Regions from separate parts of the Homo sapiens genome. Here all the other regions are linked to region 3. The links are contacts of gene promoters, found by promoter capture Hi-C in human tissues and cell types (Jung and others, 2019). All regions are on one chromosome and are shown on one strand. Each heading gives the region's core, a stretch centred on a gene start or on the middle of the fragment in contact. The rest is flanking DNA. Distances are from core to core; before and after follow the strand shown.

Region 1 (4,226 bases), core at 48-2,547, 1.2 Mb after region 3:
AGGTGGAATGTGGTTGTGGAAATGCAGTTGGTTTGTGTAGGCAGTGGGTCTACATTAACACTGTAAAGTGTACATATGGGAAAATCTTTGCATTTGCTAGGCCATTTAGCCGTTCAAGACATGGTCCGTTAGTCAGGCAACGTACAATGGATTTTCTGAGTGTTCTAGTTAAAGAGCAGGATGTGTAAAGTAGTATACATTTAGGCGGATAATTAATAATTGGTGTAGGCTTGTAAGGCTGTAATAGAATATATAAATTTCAGCACCTGTTAAAGTTTTATCAGAGCAGATCACCTTTCCTTACTGTGAGGGAATATTCCCGCCTGTAGAAAAATAAAGTGCTCCCACTACACGTGAAAAACCTTTATGATGAAAGGAGGACTGGTTTTTATAACAAATATTATTTTCCATGGTCACTGTGATTAGGTGACATTTTAGCAGTCACATTTAGAGAGCGTTCCTAGACAATAGTATTTTGTATGGGTTTGACTGTAGGTGGCAAAACACTGCATAGAAACAATATTTTAGTGCATTCTAATATTCAGATACAGTTTACTTGTCAAAGAAGCCACCTCCCCCCCCATATCATCCCCCCACAAAACAATAGGGTTGTTCATTTTATAAGTTCATCACAAGTAAATATTCAGAGCGAAAGCCTTTTCTAGTGGCTACGTTGGAAGGGGTAGAGAAGATGAAACATAGATCCCAAGTTCAGTTTTTGGCTTTGGTTGTATCATAAGCAGTTTTTACACTTCATATCTTAGCTGTCTTCATTTTCAGACATAGAGGAAGTGCTCCCTTACAGCAGTGAGGGAAAGGGCAAATGATATATTTGTGAAAGCAAAGCAGACTATCTTACTGCTTTAAAAGTTTCATTGGCTGCTTGATAAATAAAATTAACATGTTATCGATATGTCTGCAATCATATGGTCCTCAGTATATGTATTTTTTAAAGCCATTTATATAAATTCCATTTATTCTAGAAGCTGCCCAAAATGATAAACTTCAATACTCAAATGAGTCTTTGGTTCGTACAGTCATTCACCCAGCAAGTACTTTTGGGAAGCTGGTGATCTGCAAGCCCTATGTTAGGTACTAGATAGTGGCATGCTACTTTTCTTGCTTTCAACTTGGCCCACATCCTAATAAAAGAATCAGGTAGATATCAGATAATTACAATTCAGAGAGTTGGGGAAATAATCCATGTGTTCCCAGGGTGTTGTTGCATACATATCAGGGATACTCCACCATCAGCTTCCTCATAATAATGTCTAATTTTTTTTTTTTTTTTGAGACGGTCTCACCCCGTCCTTCAGGCTGGAGTGCAGGGGTGCTTACTGCAGCTTCAAACTTCTGGGCTTAAGATCTTCCCTCCTTGGCCTCCTGGTGGCAGGGACTGTGGGCACGTGCCACCACACCTGGCTAATTTTTTCTATTTTTATTTTTTGTAGAGACAAGGTCTCGCTCTGTTGCACAGGCTACTCTGGAACCTCTAGCCTCAAGCAGTCATCCTGCCTTAGCCTCCCAAAGATTACAAGTGTGAGCCACTGTGTCCAGCTTGGCTAAGATTTTTTTTTCTTTTTTTCCTTTTTTTTTTTTTTTTGAGACAGAGTCTCGCTCTGTCCCCAGGCTAGCATGCAGTGGCGCGATCTCCGCTCACTGCTAGCTCCACCTCCTGGGTTCACGCCATTCTCCTGCCTTAGCCTCCTGAGTATCTGGGACTACAGGCATCTACCACCACGCCCAGCTAATTTTTTGTGTGTTTTTAGTAGAGACAGGGTTTCACCGTGTTAGCCAGGATGGTCTCCATCTCCTGACCTAGTGATCCGCCTGCCTCGGCCTCCCAAAGTACTGGGATTACAGGCGTGAGTCACCGCGCCTGGCCTGGCTAAGATTTTTGGGTACTCACTGTGTACCAGGCACTTGCTAAGTACTTTACACATATTATCCTGCTTGCTCCTTATAATAAACTTCTTTGTTAGACATTGTCATTACCATTTTACAAAGGAGGCAATTGAGAATCAGAGAGATTAGGTTATTTGCCCAGTGTTGTGTAGCTGGTAAGTGGCAGAATCCAGATTTGAAGCAAGATCTGCTGAACTCTAAAGCCTTGTCCTTACCCACCACTGCATTGCCTCCTTTGTAGAGAATTTAGAAAGAATTCCCAGAGGTGGAATAGCAGCTAAACATGGGTTCAGCTGCAACTAATAGAATACCTGATAACAATGGTAGGTTAGTAAAACAAAGGGGTTTTTCCCCTTCATTTTAGGAGGTGTCTGGAGGCAGGAGGTTGCCTGTGTGAGTTCAGCAAATCAATGTTTCTTTCTTCCCATTCTGCCCTCCTTAGCATGCTGATTTTCATTCTTCAGCTTTTTCCTCTCCTCTTGCATTTCTTTCTTGCAAGCTGGCTCTTGAGCCTCACACAGCACATTAGAGTCCCCTAAAGGAGGCAGGGGAGGCAGAGGTTAGGGTAACATTTATCCTTACATATATCCTATTCCATCCAGGAAGGGGGAAAAACATTACCAGAATCTGGTGGCCTTGAGCAGGATTCTGCTAACAACTTATTGGCTAAACCTCTAGCAGACATCTACTCATAGCTGCAAGGGAAGCTTGGAATGTGAACTCTTAGAGCCATGGTTGGGTCTCTGACTCAAGAGACAGGCAAGGGAGGAGGGAGTTAGGAATGGCTATTGTATGGATCAACATGAATTTTCTTAATAATATACGTGGTAATGCCTGAGCTTCATCTTAAAGGTGAGTTGGTTAGAACTATCCTGATGGAAAGAAAATTACCAGTTGGTAGAGATGCTTGAGCAGAGCCTTGGGAGCTGGAAGACGTAATAGGAATACTGGAACTGAAGTCATTCTGTGAGATGACTATGAGATGTAGTACCACAGAGGAAGGGATGACAGGTTGATATGGCTTGGCTGTGTCCCACCCAAATCTCATCTTGAATTGTAGCTCTCATAATCCCCACATATTGTGGGAAGGACCTGGTGGGAGGCAATTGAATCATGGGGGGTGGGTTTTTCCCATGCTGTTCTTGTGATAGTGAATACATCTCACGAGATCTGATGGTTTTATAAAGGCCAGTTCGCCTGCACATGCTATCTTGCCTCCCACCATGTAGGACGTGCTTTTGCTTCTTCTTCGCCTTCCACCATGATTGTGAGGCTTCCCCAGCCATGTGAAACTATGAGTTCATTAAACCCCCTTTTCTTTATAAATTATAATTATTTATAAATTATAATTAAAATCTATAAATTGTACCATCTCCGGTATTTCTTCATAGCAGTATAAAAATGCTCTAATACACAGGTGAAGCTGGAATACAATCCTGGCCCCAGAGAAATGAAGGGTCTCTTGTGTTTAGGAGTGGAAGATGTCAGATTTTCAATGAAGCGTGTGGTAAACTACTCAAGGATTGATTTTAAATAGTGAGATACCATGATATGATTTATGATTTAGGACACTCAAGCAACTGTGAATAGGAGGCAACTTGAGGGCAAGGAGATTACTCAGGAGGTGATTAAGGCAATTCCAAGAGGAAATGATGAGATTGAGCTGAACTGGGAACAATGAAGATGAAGAGGAGGATGGATTTGAGTGATATTAAAATGATGGAAATGGTTGGACTTGGTAACTGATGGGCAAGGCAGGGGTCGTCCTTGGCTTCTTGGTGTCTGGCTTGGGCCACTTGGTGGTTGGCAGTGCCATTTGTTAAGATGTAGAATATATGAGGAGAAGTAGGTCATGGGGGATTAAGGTGGTCAGTTCAGTTTTGGAAATAATGAATTTTTGACATGTCTGTGGGTGGACAGATTTGTGATTCTGGGTTTGGGATTGCAGATTTGGCACACAATATTAATATTTCATAGTTGAAGTCATGGGAGTAGATAAGTTCCCCAGAGAGAGACATGAACCACCACCAACAAGGCAATTTGTTGCATTGTGACAGCTCTAACTTTTAGAAAGTTCTCAATTCTGTAGCTGTCAGCCTGAAATACTCATTTTTCCCTCTGAAGCTAACTAGTATTGTGTATTGTCTCTCTTTCCACATGTTTTGAAGGATGCTAATCTTGGCTTCCTTCAAAAGCGCAACTGGAAAACTTTCAACACATTGTAGAACATGGTTTAATCACACCTTGTATTCCCGGTCACCATCCTCTGCTGTGTTCTAGTTCATCTCTTTTTCCCTCCAAGTGGTGAATCCAAGTCTTAC
Region 2 (3,939 bases), core at 649-3,148, 1.1 Mb after region 3:
TTAATGGAGCAGTGATCTTTAAAACATAATTCAGATGTTATTCCTCCTCTTCTCAGAACACTTCATTGACCTTACACCTTATTTAGTTAAAGCCAAAGACCTTAAAATGGTATGTGGCTTCCCTGGTACCTCTGTGATATCATTTGCTTTCTCTCCCACTCTACACCAGCCACACTCTTTCTTAGTGTTCTGCAAATGCACCATGCAAGCTCCCACCTCAGGGTCTTCACATTTGTTATCCTTTCTGTTAGGAACACTTGACTCAGGTTCTCCATAGTTGGGTCCTTCATCTCTCTCTTCACTCAAATGTCATATCAGAAAGCCTTCCCTGACCACACTCTTGAAGATTACAGTCATTTCCTCTTCTAATGCTCACCATCGTGTTTCCTACTTAGTTTTTCTCCATCCAGGCCTCCGGATCACTCTCCATCCTGCTCTGTGTCTCAAGAGGCTAACCTTCTACAGTTGCATAATCAGACTGCCTTTCTCTCGTTCTCTCAGTCTTCTGGTTGGGTTCACCTAATGGGAAGCTGTAGCTTTCCCTTCATTTTGCTTATAAACCTTTAAAAAAAAACCCAAAAAACCAGACAGTATATTATTTTAGATTTAGATAAGACCAAACTAAGATTTAGTGAGCATTTTCCATGAACCAATTTCTGTGCTTTCAGATATGTCATAGAAAAAGTTAAGTGAACTGTCATCCCTGTTTAAGAGTCAGGGATACTGAGGTTGAGGTTAAATGACTTGTTCAAGGTAACAGTTAGAAAATAAACAAACAAGACTTCCAAACTCACGTCCAGTCATCTTTTCCATCTACAGCCCTGTCTCCGTAAGTCATCACTGAATGATCGCTGTTACACACACCTTTGGAATTTGTCTTTTATCACATACACACCACCACCACCATTTTCTGGAAACTTCTTTTAAACCCAATCTGACTTTTTAATCAAGTCTATATTTGCTAGTCTCAATAGCTGTTACCTTCATCCTCTTACATCTAAGGGCATGTTCACCAGGAGTCTTTCTCCGGAATCACCAACCTCCTCTTCTCTCCTGACTCTTCAGCATTTTAATATGCTCATTTCTCCTATCTTAAAATTAAAGATGGATTTTTAAATTTAAAGATGAATTTAAATACGCCCACCCCCCTCCAAATTTTGAGACTAACTTTTCTCTTCATTTTGTTCTGTCCTTTTCAAGCCAAGTTTTCTCACACGACATTCTGTATATAATGTGCCATGATCTGGCTTCTTTCCACAACACTCTCTGAAGATTCCACCTCAAAACGTCATCAGTAGCATGTGTGATTGGCTTTGACCTTTCTACTGCTTTACCTCTTTGAAGCGTTGGACTTTGGAACACAGCCTTCTTCTATACCTCCTACTCTCTTTCAAAACTCAGCTCATGTCTACCTCTTCATGGGAGTTTTTCTTAACACAGAAGACTGATCTGATTGTCCCTCCAGCTTGTCCTCTTGTATGCTGGGGCATATGCCAGCAATCACAGCTGCTGAGATGCTTAGTCTTCCTGACGGAACTGTAGTTTTTGGAGTGGTCAGGATCATGTCTTCAGAACTTGCACCCCAGCCATGTGTCTGCACGTAGTTCAGTGACCAGAACATAGTCAACACTCAGTACATGCCTGATGAATGAACAAATGAGTGTGACCATACTTAACTTGGTGAGGCCATTTTTTTCCGTGAGTTTTATACTCTGGGTTGTTTTCCTACCTTGGATTCTCTGACTTTTTTCTCTCTCATCTACTTGCCTGACTTTCTTAGGTCTTTTAACTTTGTTTCTCCATCTTTACATTAAGTGTTGGGATACAGGGCTGAACAAGAACAGGTAACTGTCTTATGGCTTTACGTTTATGTGTTTTCCTCTGAAATTAGGCAAATTTCCTAATCTTGCTGAAGTTATTTTCATCCTTAAGAAAGTAATATTATAGGTCTTTATAGAGTGGGGCAGGATCAAATGAGCATGTTTATTAATTGCTTAGCATTATGCCTGGCACAAATTCAATTACCATTATATGGTAATAATTTTAATAGTAATAAACCATATATTACACATGTATTATTCATAATCAGATGATGTATGCATTATATAAAAATTGTACTATTCTATAAATATTGTAAAAAAAGAGTAAATAATATACATCAATTGCTTTGTGCATCCATATATTTTTACGTGTGCTCCTTTTATTAAATCATATGTTTTTCCTCAGTTTATTGGTTGCTTTTTACTTACCAAAAGCTTCTGTCCAAAAAAAATCAAATGCTGCGGCTGCCCTGAGCAGAGTTCACCTTGGAAGAGGCTTTAATTGTGATGAACCTGTAAGAACAAAGTTTAAGAATTGAGATAATCAGCAGCTGTGTATTTCTTTAAATTTTTATATTTAATGATTTATTTGAATTAACTGTTACCACGTTTACATCTTCTAGATTAGTTTTTAGGCCTTTACTTTTCCTTGGCTGTGGGTACTGACCAGCATGGTGGTAGGTATGATTGGGGTGTGTGTGTGTGTGTGTGTGTGTGTGTGTGTGTGTGTGTGCATGGATAGATGTGTGTGTATGCTCATGGATGTGCATGTGCATGCATGAATGCATAATATTTCAAACACATGCTCAGTGATTGAGTCACTGTCAGGAAGTAAACTTGGAGACCATGTTGCTCGATGCCACAATAGTCCTGTTATTGCATTGTCACCACAGGATGCCATTAAAATAGGTATGAAGAATGTCAGTGTTCATTAATTTGGTTCTCTTCAGAGAACATTAGCCATGGGGAAAAGATACAGTAGAAATCTGAGAAGAGATGGAAGATAGGAGAGAAACCTGGCTTTTGAAGAATGATCTTTGATCTTTCAGAAGAGGAATACATGTCAAGAGCTTATCTATGTGAAAGAATTTACATGCAAAGCAAATCAAGAACATAGATTTTGCTTATCTTTATAGATTATAGTTTCATCTTAGATGGCAAAGAAAAGCCAGGCTTCTCTATACAAAGGGATTTGCATGTTTATGATAACTCAATTAGCCTTAACAGAGACTACCAGTATATGCTGGCTGTCTGGCCTCAAACTTTAATGCATATGTATTTTCAAAGAGAACTAAAAGATTTTGGGATTGTAACACAGAGAAAGAAGAGATAGAGAATTATCAAACATTGGGGATCAGCTTTAAAATTATAAAACAAATTATATATGTTCTGAAAAATTACTTCAGGAATAAGCAGCTTTTTTTTAAATATGAGAAAGCAAAATCATATCCTGTATGCCATTAAAGGTTATTGCGTTTTCCAAATTTATAGTTGCAAGTGATGGAAATTTTCTTTAACAAACTGAAGGATGCATTTGTAGTCTAAATGGTAGCTTTGAGAGTAGTTAGATATTTATGGAAAAATTATAAGAAGCAATGTGCTTTTAAAATTTTTTTTTCAAAAATAGATATTGGTTAGGAAAACTACACTCTTTCACTATTTGGTAATGCATATTCTGACTCATTCACACAGTCATTGTGGCACCTAAAGTGTTGCAAAATTAGACATTTATATGGAGATGGGCTATTGATGTAAAAAAAAAAAAAAAAGCTGAGGGCTAGGAATGATAAGACATGAGTAGAGGGTTTTAAAAATGAGCTCTTTGTTTTCCACTCTTCATCATGCCTAGATCTCAGAGAGGTTTTGTCCAGTGAGAATAAAGAACCCATGGGAATTATGCAGAAATCACTGTCCAGTAAAAGGAATAGTTTTCCTTCAGTGACCAAGGGTGGGACCTGAAGTCAGCACTAGTCAGTGACGCTGTTTTATCGTCTTCATGCCAGGTGAAGATTTGCATAGGTGAAATGCCCACTTATTAGGAGAATTACACCCTGACAGAAATCCAAAAGATGGTGCCCCTTTATCTTCTATCAGGGGATTTCATCTAATACTAGAAGGA
Region 3 (3,784 bases), core at 772-3,271:
CAAAAATTAGCCAGGCATGGTGGCACAGTCTGTAATCCCAAGCTAGTCAGGAGGCTGAGGCAGGAGAATCGCTTGAGCCCGGGATGGGGAGGTTGCAGTGAGCTGAGATCACGCCACTGCACTCCAGCCTGGGCAATAAGAGCGAAACTCCATCTAAAAAAAAAAAAGAAGAACGAAAAATGCAGGCAGGGGAGATGCCTTGAACAGCCCATTGAATTGAGTAAGATTAACTCCATCCTCTGCACCTGAGGTCCAAAATGAACTTTAAGGACTCATACATCTAATAAACATCACACCACTAAAGCTAAATGTCATCCTACCCCTCTCACGAAGAAAACACAAAACAAGCTCACTACTTTGAAGATTTTCGATGCTAAGTGTGTTACATGGAGAAACCACCCAACTTCCTTTAACTTCAAAACGGAACATATATCAAAGATAAAAGGAAACTGTAAGATACAAGGGTCACTACCCCTAAAATTTAAGTTAAATTCTTACAGGGATATTCAAACCAAGCCAAGCCCAGTCCCTTTGATTCACCCAGTCACCGAGATCTTTTAAAATTTAGTTACAGGTGGCAATAAGAAAAAATAAAGGGCATACTCTCATTTTTCTCTTAAAGTATTTCTCTGAAACACTCTTAAAATAAGGATTGGCAGTAAAATAAATGAATTTTCTACCATAATCCCTAATTGACATTAATAATAAAGCATTAATTATATTTATAGTGGTTCGTTTTCCCAATTTATAATAACTAATATGTATTGTTCTGGATGGAACTAGACAGTTTTTTATTCTTTGTAATAATGAGGGCATTTCAACACATTATGTTCACTTTTAAGCTGACCTTCATACAGCCACGAGTTTGTTTATAAAGCAAGAAGCAGAGTCAAACTAAAATTTTTGTTTTACAAAATGTCAAAAACTCAGTTAATTTCTTTCATACAACAGGCAATTCCTGCAACCTTGCCCATAAAATCCTAAGACATAAACACCTGAAAGAGTCAGTTTGCCTTTTTTTGTCTCATGGCAAATATTACAGTGAGAGGAAGCTATAGCTGCCACTGACCGAACCCTAAATTCAGCAGCATCAACAATATCAATGCAGCCTGTCATGCGACGGTAGGTTCCCTAGTTTCAGACTATCTAACCCAGCAAATTCTGCCTCAAAAAGTGACATACTAAGTGGGTAAAAAACATAAAACAGCAATTTTTGAATCAAAGTTAGGGTAGTGCTGACTTCAAACATAGCTTCAGAACGCTGGGACCCATCACTAAGTGAATGGGAGTGACTGGCATCCGCTCAGACAAGTACTAGGGCAAAGGGATAAGAACTGGCAGATGGCATCTCAAAAATGAAATTCTAACAGTGGTGTCAGTACCTTGGGCATGGGCAAAAATAGTACCAACAGGAAAGGAAAGACTATATGAACCCCAAAAGCAAGCACATCGCCCAAAATTGCTGTCAATAACCACCAACGATCATCACCAATCACCTGATCCCGTTTAGATTGCACCTGGGAACCAGGCAGTCCCACCTCAAGACCAAAGCAACTGTCACAAGTAGCAAATATCACTCACCAGGCAAGGGAGCCACAAAGACCCCCGGCTGGCCCCCACGCTCTTGGTAACGGCGCCTACTTTTGGGCCCGACCTGCAGGCTTGCAGCCGCAGCGATCTGACAGCTAGCACCGCCCCCGGCTAGAGCGGGTTTGTGACCTTTGACCCCTGACCCCTGACCTCCACGGTGCAGGAACATCCCGCCCTGTGGTTTCCCATGGAGAAGCTTGAAAGCCCCCTTACCTGTCACAGCTTCATCTCATGCCGCGATGTAGCCTATCAGACCGCCGGTGGGCGCCCCAGCCAAGGAGGACAAGGATAGGGCGGAACTACGGAGGATGCGGGGTGCGTAGATCCTGCTGGGATAATCCGTGGGGCGGCAAGCGCTATACAGCCGCCGTCTCCCCAGTGATACTGCAAGGTGCCGGTGCCGCCGCCGCCGCCACTGCAGTAAATCAGCTGACACCAGCCCCAACTGCCGTGACTTTCGCTGCAACTGTCGCAAAAATGAGGGGGCGGGAAAGACTCACCATTTCCCTACTTGCAAGGCCTAAGCCGGCGCCGAGAGAGCCAGCCGCGTTACGATGGAGACCGAAAGTGGAGAAAAGGCCAGCTGTGGGCAAGGAGTGCACGGCCGCCATCTTGGTTGTGGGAAGTCTCGTCTAGGCTGTCCTCTCTCCAGTTGGGAGGACCAAGATGGAGCGAAGGATGAAGTAGCAAGTGCACGTCTTTCTTGGGAGCAGGATGTTGCGCAAGTTTACACTTCTGACCCCATCACACTGCTTCCCACTGAGATGCAAGAGGTAGGGAATTCCCTAAACACTGGAAAGTATGTTGGATGCTGGAAAGCTAAAAAGAATGACAAATGTCCCCCAAGATAGATAAGCTATAGTATAGTGCAGGATGAGAAATGCCAAATAAGGAGCAAGGAAGAAAAGAGATGAATTATTTCTAGGTTGGGGTAAGGAAGGATAATCACATTAGGTCATATGGAAGTCTAGAAAAATTGGTCAGATTTGGAATAATAATTGGGAAAGGAAAACAACTTTGTCACCAGCATTGAAATGTAAAACATGAATATATGCAATAAATAGAAAGTTAAATTTGGAAGAAATACAAGGGACGTGAAGTAGGTGAAGTGGGAAAATGTGGTATCAGGGCTTAGCTGTTTCTGCTCCGTGAGCGGCTCCTTTAACAGGCAGTCTATGCCCTGGAGCTCTCTTGTGGGTTGATAGAGACTTCATCACATTCGGCCTAGACCAGGTAATAAAAAAGTAACATGGAAAAATAGAATAATGTAGATAACAAGAGGCTTTTAGTGGCCATATAAGCTTTTTGGTCTTTATTCCAAAGACAATGAAAAGTAATTGAAGACTTTTGACTAATAAATAGTGTAGCACTTTTCCTAACCACATGGTATTCAGGTTTTTAAAATTGCTTTACAACAAATTATCACAGTCTTAGTGTCTTAGTGGCTTAAAGCAACACATATGTATTGCCTCACATTCCATGGGCAAGGAGGTCAGGAACAGGTTAGCTGAGTCCTGTGCTCATGCTCTCACAAGGCTACAAGTGGATGTCAGCCAAACTGCAATTCTCATCTGGAGGCTCAACTAGGGAAGAATCTGATTCCAAACTCCTGTCAGCTCATTCAGTTCCTTGTGGCTGTCTGACTAGGGGCCCTGGCTTCTTACTGGCTCTGAACTGGAAGTGGCCATCAGGTCCTAGCAGCCACCCACAGTTCCTTACCACATGGGCCTTACTAAAGGCTCTCTCGCAACATGGCAGCATACTCCTTCAAAGCTAGCAAGGAGAATCTCTCTACTGAGCACAAGAAAGGAGTCACACAGATATAGATACAGCCATGGATATGGACATGGACATAGATATGGAAATGGATGTAGATGATAACCTAAATTAGGGAGTGACAGCCATCACCTTTGCCATATATTATTGGTTAAAGTAAGTCACGGGTTTTATCTGTACTCAAGGAGAAAGGATTATACAAGAGTGTGACTTATCGGGGTCACTTAAGATGGGCCAGCCACAAATATTAATTTGGCAGCAATGTGCCATGTAAATCAGGTGGGAAATACAGGGAAGCAAGGAGACAAGTGAGATGTCGTCATTGTTGTTGTAACCAAAAATGTATGGTTATCACTGCAAAAGAATCATAAATGAGACCCACAGGATAAAATCGGGAATTTCACCATTTTAGAGGCAT

Evidence for each region. The method cuts DNA at HindIII sites, captures the fragments that hold promoters and counts their contacts. A contact is called where the count stands out against the background at its distance.
Region 1: a contact is called between a fragment that was not itself captured here and the fragment with the promoter of WDR7 in region 3, in 1 of the 25 tissues and cell types used here (dorsolateral prefrontal cortex).
Region 2: a contact is called between a fragment that was not itself captured here and the fragment with the promoter of WDR7 in region 3, in 1 of the 25 tissues and cell types used here (dorsolateral prefrontal cortex).

Annotation. Positions count from the first base shown.
Region 1 is chr18:55,444,362-55,448,587 of GRCh38, reverse strand. The region is part of intron 5 of TCF4 (transcription factor 4); the gene reads left to right. Among named protein-coding and RNA genes, the nearest start is that of TCF4-AS1, 6.1 kb to the left of the region's middle. The HindIII fragment of the contact is 5,079 bases long and covers 1-3,836 here.
Region 2 is chr18:55,513,020-55,516,958 of GRCh38, reverse strand. All of the region lies in intron 3 of TCF4 (transcription factor 4), which reads left to right. Among named protein-coding and RNA genes, the nearest start is that of MIR4529, 36 kb to the right of the region's middle. The HindIII fragment of the contact is 4,870 bases long and covers 1-3,939 here.
Region 3 is chr18:56,649,596-56,653,379 of GRCh38, reverse strand. It overlaps WDR7 (WD repeat domain 7), which reads right to left and starts at 2,021. Exons shown (of 28, transcript NM_015285.3): 1 at 1,804-2,021. RefSeq lists an enhancer at 1,901-2,290. The HindIII fragment of the contact is 8,093 bases long and covers 1-2,339 here.